Regions from separate parts of the Homo sapiens genome. Here region 1 is linked to region 2. The links are contacts of gene promoters, found by promoter capture Hi-C in blood cells and fetal thymus (Javierre and others, 2016). All regions are on one chromosome and are shown on one strand. The core of a region is centred on a gene start or on the middle of the fragment in contact, and the rest is flanking DNA. Distances in the headings are between cores, read along the strand shown. Region 1 holds the start of DHRS12 (dehydrogenase/reductase 12). Region 2 holds the start of NUDT15 (nudix hydrolase 15).

The links. The method cuts DNA at HindIII sites, captures the fragments that hold promoters and counts their contacts. A CHiCAGO score of 5 or more calls a contact.
Region 1: a contact is called between the fragment with the promoter of DHRS12 here and the fragment with the promoter of NUDT15 in region 2, in 5 of 17 cell types (naive CD8 T cells, fetal thymus, total B cells and 2 more). The highest score is 11.4, in naive CD8 T cells.

What each region holds. Positions count from the first base shown.
Region 1 is chr13:51,801,715-51,806,579 of GRCh38, reverse strand. DHRS12 (dehydrogenase/reductase 12) reads left to right here and starts at 2,417. Exons shown (of 9, transcript NM_001377533.1): 1 at 2,417-2,526. LOC107984561 (a long non-coding RNA gene) reads right to left here and starts at 2,744. Exons shown (of 2, transcript XR_007063805.1): 1 at 1,779-2,744. RefSeq lists enhancers at 1,537-1,666, 4,052-4,101 and a silencer at 2,217-2,856. The HindIII fragment of the contact is 7,862 bases long and covers 1-3,620 here.
Region 2 is chr13:48,036,262-48,040,943 of GRCh38, reverse strand. NUDT15 (nudix hydrolase 15) reads right to left here and starts at 3,218. Exons shown (of 3, transcript NM_018283.4): 1 at 3,040-3,218; 2 at 1-24. The coding sequence starts at 3,197. It overlaps LOC124903172 (a long non-coding RNA gene), which reads left to right and starts at 2,952. Exons shown (of 2, transcript XR_007063788.1): 1 at 2,952-3,338. RefSeq lists enhancers at 2,722-2,881, 2,932-3,171, 2,338-3,213, 3,214-4,090. The HindIII fragment of the contact is 6,950 bases long and covers 1-4,253 here.

The DNA.
Region 1 (4,865 bases), core at 1,168-3,667, 3.8 Mb before region 2:
TTCCATTTTGGTCAAAATTAGCCTCAGGGATCTAAATCAATTGGAATGGAACTCTGGGGGATGATTTCTTTGTTTGGCTTTTTGAGTGGCAAATTGGAACCAGGAACACAGAAGAAATATTTTAGTGGCTTTCCACCCCTGGGAAATGAAGCAACCCTATCCACTTTGACGTTTCTCTTAAAAGCACCCTGGGCCTAACTTATTTAGCATCCATATGTAATTTTCTTAGTAGATGTATAGAAAGTTGGAGCTGAAAGGAGCCCTGGGTGGCGCCTAGTCTGGCCCCCTTTCTGTTCAGATGAGAAAAACTGAGGCCCAGAGGCTAAGTGACTTGCCCCCATTTAGTATGATGCAGCAGGGAAGGTGTGGGCTCTGGAATCATACTACCTGGTCTCAAAGCCTGGCTCCACCATGTATTTACTGTGACCTGAGTCAAGTTATGTAACCTCTCTCAGTTTGCTCATCTGTAAAATGGGGATAATAGCAGGAGTAACCATATGGATCAGTGTGAGAATTAAGTGCTATAATCCACAATGCTTGGCACACTTTAAGCCTTCTATACATTTTATCACATGGGTCACACAGGGAATAACTGGCAGAAATTGGACTAGAATCCAGCTCAGCTGACTCCAGTTAAACGGGAACATTCCCTTGTGAACTCCATACTGCCCTTTGTTTGTGTGTGTGTGTTACTTGGCATCCAGGTGAGAGTGGAAGCTCATTTTGAGACAGGGTTTGGCTTTTCCTAAGACCTCCTCTTTAAATGTATATAATGTATACACTAACTACCTCGTGGATGCTTGATTTGAGGCTAACACTGGACACCTCATGCCCTCATGGAAATTTCTTGAATGTACACTGCATGGCTGTAAGCGCAGGGGAAAAAGGAATGAGAAGAAAACTTAAGGAGGGAAACCAACACTTCTGATCACTTTGTATGAAACTAAGCTCTTTATAATGAATGCCTTTAATCACAACCACCCCACGAGGTGCGCATATTCATTCCCATTTTACATATTAAGAAACCAAGACTGAGGGTGTATGCAGCATGCTCAGGTTCACCTGGCTAATGCAGAGAGCTGGGTTTGCAGCCACACTTTTACTTCAAGGGGCTGCTGACACCCTCCAAGAGACTTGGTGGTTCAAAACTATTTCTCATCCCCTCTCTGCGAGCCAAAAGCCTATTTCCTGAGGTGTTCAGAGAGATTCAGAGCAGATTGACACCTTTTCCATCACTGACACAAAGAGGAGGGTATAAAAAACAGTATGTAGCCCTGGGGATCTAAAATATTTTCCCAGCCAAATCGGACAGGCATTGAAAGTCACACAGGCTGGGGTGGTTTTACAAAATGCCACTTGTTTAAATTTCCTTTCATCACTCTGTCAGGAATAACAGCAACGTAGTGGAGCCTCAGAGTCCTGTTGAGAGGGGCGAGCTGTTCCGGGGAAATTTATTTCAAAAGTTATTCTGAAGTAAAAACTTGCCCACTGTGGAGTGAGGTTGGACAGTGATCCTATATCCTAGGTAATGAGGCTATTAAAGCAGCTGGTCTCTTCAGCTTATGTAAGTGGGGCCCAGTCTCTGGGCGACTTGGGTAAACCGGTATAGAATTTAACAGGGTGACTAGGAGTGACAGCAGCAGTAAGACCCCCATTTCTAATGTGGCGTTAGGGCTGGAGGTTAGATGTGGACAGGGGTGTCTGAGTCCTACATAATGGGGCTGGATGACTAGTCTGAGATCTGGGTTCACGCAGCAACCACACTCTTTTTTACTCACACTGTTCATCTGGGCTTGGGTGGAAAGAGGCTGATGAGGATTTGGGGGAAATCAAGGGGCTCTCCCTGGCATTGCATGAAGTCGCAGAACCAGTGGCAAAAGTCCAACTTTGGAGACAATTACTTCTCGGGTGGGAGCCCCAGCCCTGCCTCTTGCCTGCGATGTCGCCAATCTGACTGCGCTTGCTGGAGACGGGAAATGTGGCACGGCACTGCATCCCCCAACACGTGTAGAAACTTAGAGAATGCCAGTTATTAAAATAACCCTTATGATAACACCAATTCGATGCAGAAGTCTTTTAAATATCATAAGCCTCGTCGTTTTATTCCACATGGTTTTCTAGGTAACCAAATTCTAGGAGGTGCGTTGCAGGGCCATCTTCGCATCCCGGCCATGCCCAGCAGGACGGTGTTCTCTAAACGGCGCTGATGCCCGATTTCGACCCCGAGGAGACTGCGGACCTCGACTGCGGCCCCCACCAGGGCCGGTCCGCCCTCACTCCACCCTCTGAGGCTGGGGCGGAGTCGACCGGCCGGCCCCGAGACCCCTTGCCTTACCGGTGGAGCAAGGAACCGGAAGCCGCGGCTCTTACATAACCGGGATGATGTCAGGGCGGGCGACTCCCGGGGGGCGGGACCAGGGCGGAGGCCGCGCCGGGAGCGCGGTGGGGCTAGGCGTGGGGCGCTCCCGGCATGTCCCTGTACCGCAGCGTCGTGTGGTTCGCCAAGGGGCTGCGCGAGTACACCAAGTAAGGCGGCGCGGCGGGGCGCGGGGCCCCGGGCTGTCACGTGGCCCGCCTCGGCGCGGGCGAGCAGGGTTGGCGGGGACGCGCCCGCGGCTCCTTCGCCCTCTCGCTGGGCCGACTAAGCGTGTCCAGAACGACGGGTGCGCCCGCCGTCTAGCGACCCACGGCTGGGCGTGGGGCAGTCGCCAGACTCCAGCCGCTCAATGCCCGCGACCGAGACTGGCGCCCGAGGGGCGGGGCTGTGGCGCGCCCAAGCCCAGGGCCGTCCCACTGACGTCAGGCGGCCCCGGCGCCAAGGAGCCTCTTGGGCGGCACCTCGGCGCCCCGCTGGGTGTGCTCGTGGAAGTGTCTTCGTGGTGCTGCTGGCGGCGTCAGATAGGGCTGGATCTAAATCGCTAGCTAAGGCTCTGTCCTAGTGCCTTTGGGTGTGTTTCCTTTAAAAAGATGCAGCACCTGGACTGCGACCTTTGGCTCCAGCTGGAACTTTCCAGCCAGTGTGTGCTTCTGGGGAACGGTGCGTGGTGGTTTCGTCGCCCCGTGACCACGCTCAGTGTGCCCTAGTTGGCTCTCCACCTCATTGTGGTTTTAAGAGGTGACAGGTTCCTGTGACGGAGGAGAGATGGAGGTTTTCTCTTAGAATTGATTAGGCTAACCGCTGGTTCTCAACCCTGTCTGCACATCAGAATCACTGGGCGAGAATTAAAAGTACCCAGTTTTCAGGCCCCATCCCTACAGATTCTGATTTAGTGGATCTGCACAGGGGCCTGGACTGGCATTTCATCCAAATGCCCCAGGTGATTCTCACCTCTGAGAGGCTTCTCCCTGCACTGGGGCTTTATCAGTTCCCACGGCAACCTGGCCAGCACTCCTAGGGGAGGTAGGAGTTGCAACTCCCTGCTCTTCACCCCACATCGTTTTGGAGAAGGTTCAGCTCTGTCTCAGGAGCCCCTGCTGCAGAGAATGGTGGGGAGTGTAGTCGTGAGCCCTGTCCCACAGTTTTTAGGGGAATACAGTGGCAGCCTCTTTCTTTCAAAGGGGTGTCCTCTGGCAATGACCATTAATTGCTGGATCTTTCCACATTACACAGCATGAAAGCTTAAGTCAGTTTCCAACCAGGGGTGGGCCCCAAGGAAAGCAGACTGTAAAAATTTCTCCCAGGACTCTTTCGCTCTGATTTCCCCACCTTGAGGGAAGGTAGAAGTGAGGCCAAGGGGCCCAATCCACCACAGATTGGTGGGGGAAGGGAGGGGAGGGGAAGGCAGTTGGCAAAGTTAGATGGGTTTTCCTGCTGTTGTGGATTTAGTGAATAGGAGAGAAAAACAACAACCTTGTTTTGACTTCAGTGTGAGAGCGCGGAGTTAGAGTTTACAACGTTTCTCTTGGCACAAGGATTTTTATAAAGCCTCCCTATATTGGGCTCCTAAGGCAGGAGGATCTAATCACTGTTTCCTAAACTTTGCTGAACCTAATAATTCCCTGGGGCAGTTTTAAACAGACTCCTAAACCCTGGGCAAGTGTGGATGGGTCCTAAGCAAATTTCATATTTGGGTAAATTGAGGGTGTGGGGAGACACAGATACCTGCCAGCTTCCTCCTCCCCATCCCTGTCACCTCAGCTTCAGGAAACAGTAAGTACAAATGTCCTCTCAGCTTGAGTCAAAATCACTGGCAAGGCACATGAAACCACAGGTTGCCAAGCAATCACTTCTGAGTCAGTAGGCAGGGCATTTCCAACAGGTTTCCAGATGATGCTGATGCAGCTTGTCTGGGGACTGCCCTTTGGCACCGAGGCTGGGTGTTGAAGAAGATCACCTACCTTCTGGTGACCTTGGGAAAGTCGTGTGTGTGTGTGTGTGTGTGTGTGTGTGTGTGTGTGTGTGTGTGTGTGAAAAATAGAGACTGATATCTAGAGACTGATTTCTAGAGTGAAAATAAAATGCTTCCCCAATAAGGGGCAGAGTACATAAAAGACAAGTCTTATTAACAACAGATCGGACCAGGATGGAATTCTTGTATGGAAGGCAAGATCCAAGGCAGAGGACAGAGGGCGGGGACATGTCCTGCAGGCCAGGCTGGTACTGCCCGCTTGGCAGCACTCCCAGTCTGGAGTTTGAGGAAGAGGTTCAACCCAGAGGAGCCAGCCTCAGCAAACATTCGTCTCTAATACGGATCAGTGTGGAGCCCAGAGGCTAATGTCCCCTCTGACTGGGTATCACAGAGAAAAGCCTGTCAGCTTCCTGCCCCTGGAGAAGGGCTCTTCAGGCCTGTTCCCTGTGGACTGCTTTTTTTCTGGCTCTATTGTATTTGGGAAGTTCTCACTCATTCCCCACAATGCCTCCTCCT
Region 2 (4,682 bases), core at 1,969-4,468:
TGAGCACATTCTTCCCAGGTTTCACTGGAAAACAGAAACAAAAATTAGATTAATTCTATTTTTTTATATATACACATGTGTGTGTATATATATGTATATATATAAATGTATATACGTGTGTGTGTGTGTATATATTTTGCCATGAAATTCTTGGCTAGAAAATTCTAGTGTAAAACAAAAAGAACTGTAATTGGTTCCTGCTTTAAAACAACAAATCAGCTGGGCATGTGGCTCATGTCTGTAATCTTTTGGAAGGCCGAGGCAAGAGGACAGCTTGAGTTCAGGAGTTGGAGACCAGCTGAGGCCAACATAGTGAGACCTCATCTCTCAAAAAAAAAAAAAATAGCCGGGCATGGTGGTGCGTGCCTATGGTCTGTGGTCCCAGCTACTCAAGAGGCTGAGGCAAGAGGATAGTTTGAGCCTGGGAAGTCAAGGCTGCAGTGAGCCATGATGGTGCCATTGCACTCCAGCCTGGACAAACAGCAAGACTTTGTCTCAAAAAATAGTAATAATAATTAATTAAAAAGATAAAGATTTAAAACCAGTAAATCAGCAACCTTGCCCTTGACATTATATCCTGTATCTAGTTATCTAAAGATGAAAAGGACTTAATATTGAATAAAAATTAACATTTAGCCATCTCAGCACTAATTTACAGCCCTGGAACCTGTGTGTAACAAGGAGGCAGTTTAGTGCATTAAGAGCAGACTTTGGAGTCAACTAGACCTGGGATTGAGCTCAAAGTTCATTACTTTCCACCTTGGACAAGTAAAAAGAGATTATATTACTTCCTCATGGGGTCACTGTAATTGTATCAAGAAGTGCCACTATGTCTTTTCCAGCAGTCTCAGAATTTCAATTTAAGCCTCAAAACTGAAGACAATAGGTAAAAAGCACTTCTAAATTCTCAAGCAAAAGGGCAAACAGATGTCATCTGAGCTCAAGCTCAAGCTAAGGAAGGCCAGACTAGACCTGTGACTTCTCCGTATCCAGGCTACATAAGAAAGACAGGAGGCCGGGCGCGGTGGCTCACGCCTGTAATCCCAGCACTTTGGGAGGCCGAGGCGGGCGGATCACGAGGTCAGGAGATCGAGACCATCCCGGCTAAAACGGTGAAACCCCGTCTCTACTAAAAATACAAAAAATTAGCCGGGCGTAGTGGCGGGCGCCTGTAGTCCCAGCTACTTGGGAGGCTGAGGCAGGAGAATGGCGTGAACCCGGGAGGCGGAGCTTGCAGTGAGCCGAGATCCCGCCACTGCACTCCAGCCTGGGTGACAGAGCGAGACTCCGTCTCAAAAAAAAAAAAAAAAAAAAAAAAAGGAGATGTTTGAGACAGAGGAAAGTTTGGAGTTTTCAGCCTAGTAGGAGCATTTCCCTTCCAGACTACAAGGGGCCAACTCTGCCCCCCCAAGACAGGTGAGGAACATTCCAAGAGAATCAGTCACAAGATTGGGAGTGACTCAAGAAGGAGATACTCAGTGTGTCACTCCCCTGCTAAAGACATCCTGAGCTGCAGAAACTCACAGGCCTACCCCAGTGCATCAGAAAAGGTGTGCTACAAGGGTGAAAGCTCTTGGGTAAATCTGAAATGTGTCCCTCGGAGTTTCCAGATGCAGATGAATACAGAGGTAGAGCAAGGAAAAAGGGCAGCAGTGGAAATATCATTCCCATTGTGTGTTTCCTTTGGGCCAAGCAGATGCCACAAGAGACTGCTGGGTAATCAAATAGGAGATCCCAGTAGAAAGAAAATGTGGGGTGATGTGCTAAAAGCAAGAGCTAGGAGGTGGGCCAGCATCACAGAAAGCCCGTCACCTATGTCAGGAAAATCTCTGTGGGACTTCCCAACAACTGACAAACATACCCTGAGAAAGCACACATGTGGATATCATGCCCAGAGGACACCAATGGATGGATCAGAGCAGCATCAGTCACCTGAATGGCTTGCTCTCTCTCCTCCTCCAACACACTGGAGAAAGAAGGAAACTCAGAGACAGCCAGGTGAGAAGAGGAGGAGGATACAGAAAAGCAGAACAATGGCTCACACCTCCTTTATGCACTGCAGGGGAGGGATTAGAAACTGGAAGTGACACTGAAGGTTTAAATTGGATTGGACTTTTAAATGCTTGGAAGTGAATCATACTGACCCAAATGTGATTTATTTTTATAACCAAGTGACAAGAAAACTATAGAATTTGCAGGAAACGTCACTGAAGAGGGAAAGAAAAAATCATGTTTGAAGGCAGTGGAAGGAGAAAATAAAACCATTTCCTGTTTGTTCTCCCATCAAATTTAGCCCACTGAGTATGCCAGTTATGTAAAGATCAAATGAAAGTATACATGCAAAGAGCTTGGCATATTATCCAGCCTTTAACAAAAAGCCCATTAGAGCTCAATGTTGGCTATGGTCATTGACCTCACGGGTGGATCACCTGAGGTCAGGAGTTCGAGACCAGCCTGGCCAACATGGCGAAACCCCGTCTCTACTAAAAATACAAAAATTAGCACGGCGTGGTAGCGGGCGCCTGTAATCCCAGCTACCAGGAGGCTGAGACACAAAAATCGCTTGAACCCAGGAGGCGGAGGTTGCAGTGACTGGAGATAGCACCACTGCACTCTGGCCTGGGCTACAGAGCGAGACACAGTCTCAAATCAATCAATCGATCAATCAATCAATCACATGGAAACGGTGCAATGTCTTAGCTGACAATATCGGGCTGCTGGAGGTTTACACACACCTGCTTTCCTCCTTTTGTGTGTAAGCTGTGAGAAACACACCTCACAGACGAACTCCCAACCACCACCCAGCAGGGGCGCAGCCGGAAAGACCCAGCTAGCAAAGACCTCGCCTGACCCAGCACAGCGCCCCCTCCTGGGCGCGATCCTACGTCGCCCAGAAGTCGAGGGGAGGAACCGAGGGAACGCGCAAGAAAGGACGCAGCGTCAGCGCGGACGTTCTCACGCACGGCACACGGAAGCAAGCACGGCGTGAGTTCGTCCCTCTGCGCACGCCCCGGTTTCCTCGCGTCCGCGGCTGCTCACCCGAACTCCAGATGACCTCCAGGGAGTTGGAAACTGCCAGCTCCAACCGAGCCTTTCCTCTTCCCCAGGAGGACGCAACGCGGATGCTTGCAGCTGGTCACCACGACTCCGACTCCGACTCCTGGCCGCCGCCCGCGCGGCTGTGCGCTGGCCGTCATAGCGCGCGGGAGGACGCGCCTGGCAGCGGCAGGAAGTGACGCGCTCACTACCCCGTCCCGCGGCCGCAGCCAATCTCTCCCCGCGAGGGCGGAGGCGCCGAAATCAAAGCGAGAGCGCCTCGGCCTCTCCAGCTGTCCGCGGTGCGTAATGCGTCGCGGAGGGCTATCAGGTTGGGGAATGCCGTGTTTCCTTCCGAAGGGCAGCGTGCCTTAGAGTTTCGCTGTAACTAAAGTCGCTTACAGTTGTGCTTTGAATATTCATCACCCGTCAGCCTATCCACTCCCAGATTCCTGCAAACCATGCATTTACATGTACAAGCCGCCTGCTCTTACCAACCTCGGCACCACTGCACATTCTTTTTTCCGTGAATGACCTCGCCCACCATGGTGCACCCATTTGCCCTGTAGCTCAAATCAGCGTGGTACCAGGATAAGGATAGGTCGTTTAGAAACATCCCATTATAAACAACTATGCTTAAGGTATATTCATAAGTCATGGGAGGAAATAAAGGCTAATTGATAAATCATGCTGGGAAGAGTTAGTTACAAACAGTGGAAAACAGACATTTTCAGATGTTTGCACACCATGCACCATGCAAAATACAAACCAGCTGAATCATAAAAACAAATGACTAGTTACTGGGAGGGTTTTCTCTCTTTCTCATTATTTTTACTTCTACCAAAGTAATGTGCACATACTGGTAATTTTATTTTATTTTAATTTTCACCAAGCTAGCTAATTTTCTTTCTTTTTTTTTTTTTTGTGGAGGTGGGCTGTCGGTCTTTTGTCGAGGCTGATCTCCAACTCCTGTCCTCAAGCAGTCCTTCCACTTGGGCCTACCAGAGTGCTGGGATAACAGGCGTGAACCACTGCGCCTGACCTATAGCTATAATTTTAAGAAGTAAAATGGTGCAAAAACCGCAACAAGAGCAACCTGACCCTCCTACTTTCAGAAACAATCACTTTTAACTCTTTGAACTGTATTTCTGATATTTGCCTACTTATTTCTAAGTAATATGCTTACTCTCCATGTTATACTAAATGGGTATTAAGCTTTTCACAGCATCTCTCCTCACTATCAACATTCACATTCATTACAAAGGTACTTACAATATCTTCTCAAAAAATGGTAGTATATAAAAAGGATAATATATTGAACAATGAGATTAATCCCAGAAATACTAGGTTGGCTTAATATTTGAAAAGCCAATGTAATTCAGCATATTAACAGAGGGAGAAAGGAAATACATATAATCATCTCAATAGATGCAGAAAAAAATTAATAAAATCCGATACTCAGTTGTGATTAAAAAAACTCCACAAAATCTCTGAGCAAACTAGAAATAAAATGAAACTTTAACATGATATATGGCATCTACAAAGACCTACAGCTAACATCATATTTAATGACTGTTTTGAGCTGAATTGTGTCCCCTCAAAATTCCTATGTCGAAGTCCTATCCCCCAGTACCTCAGCATTTGGA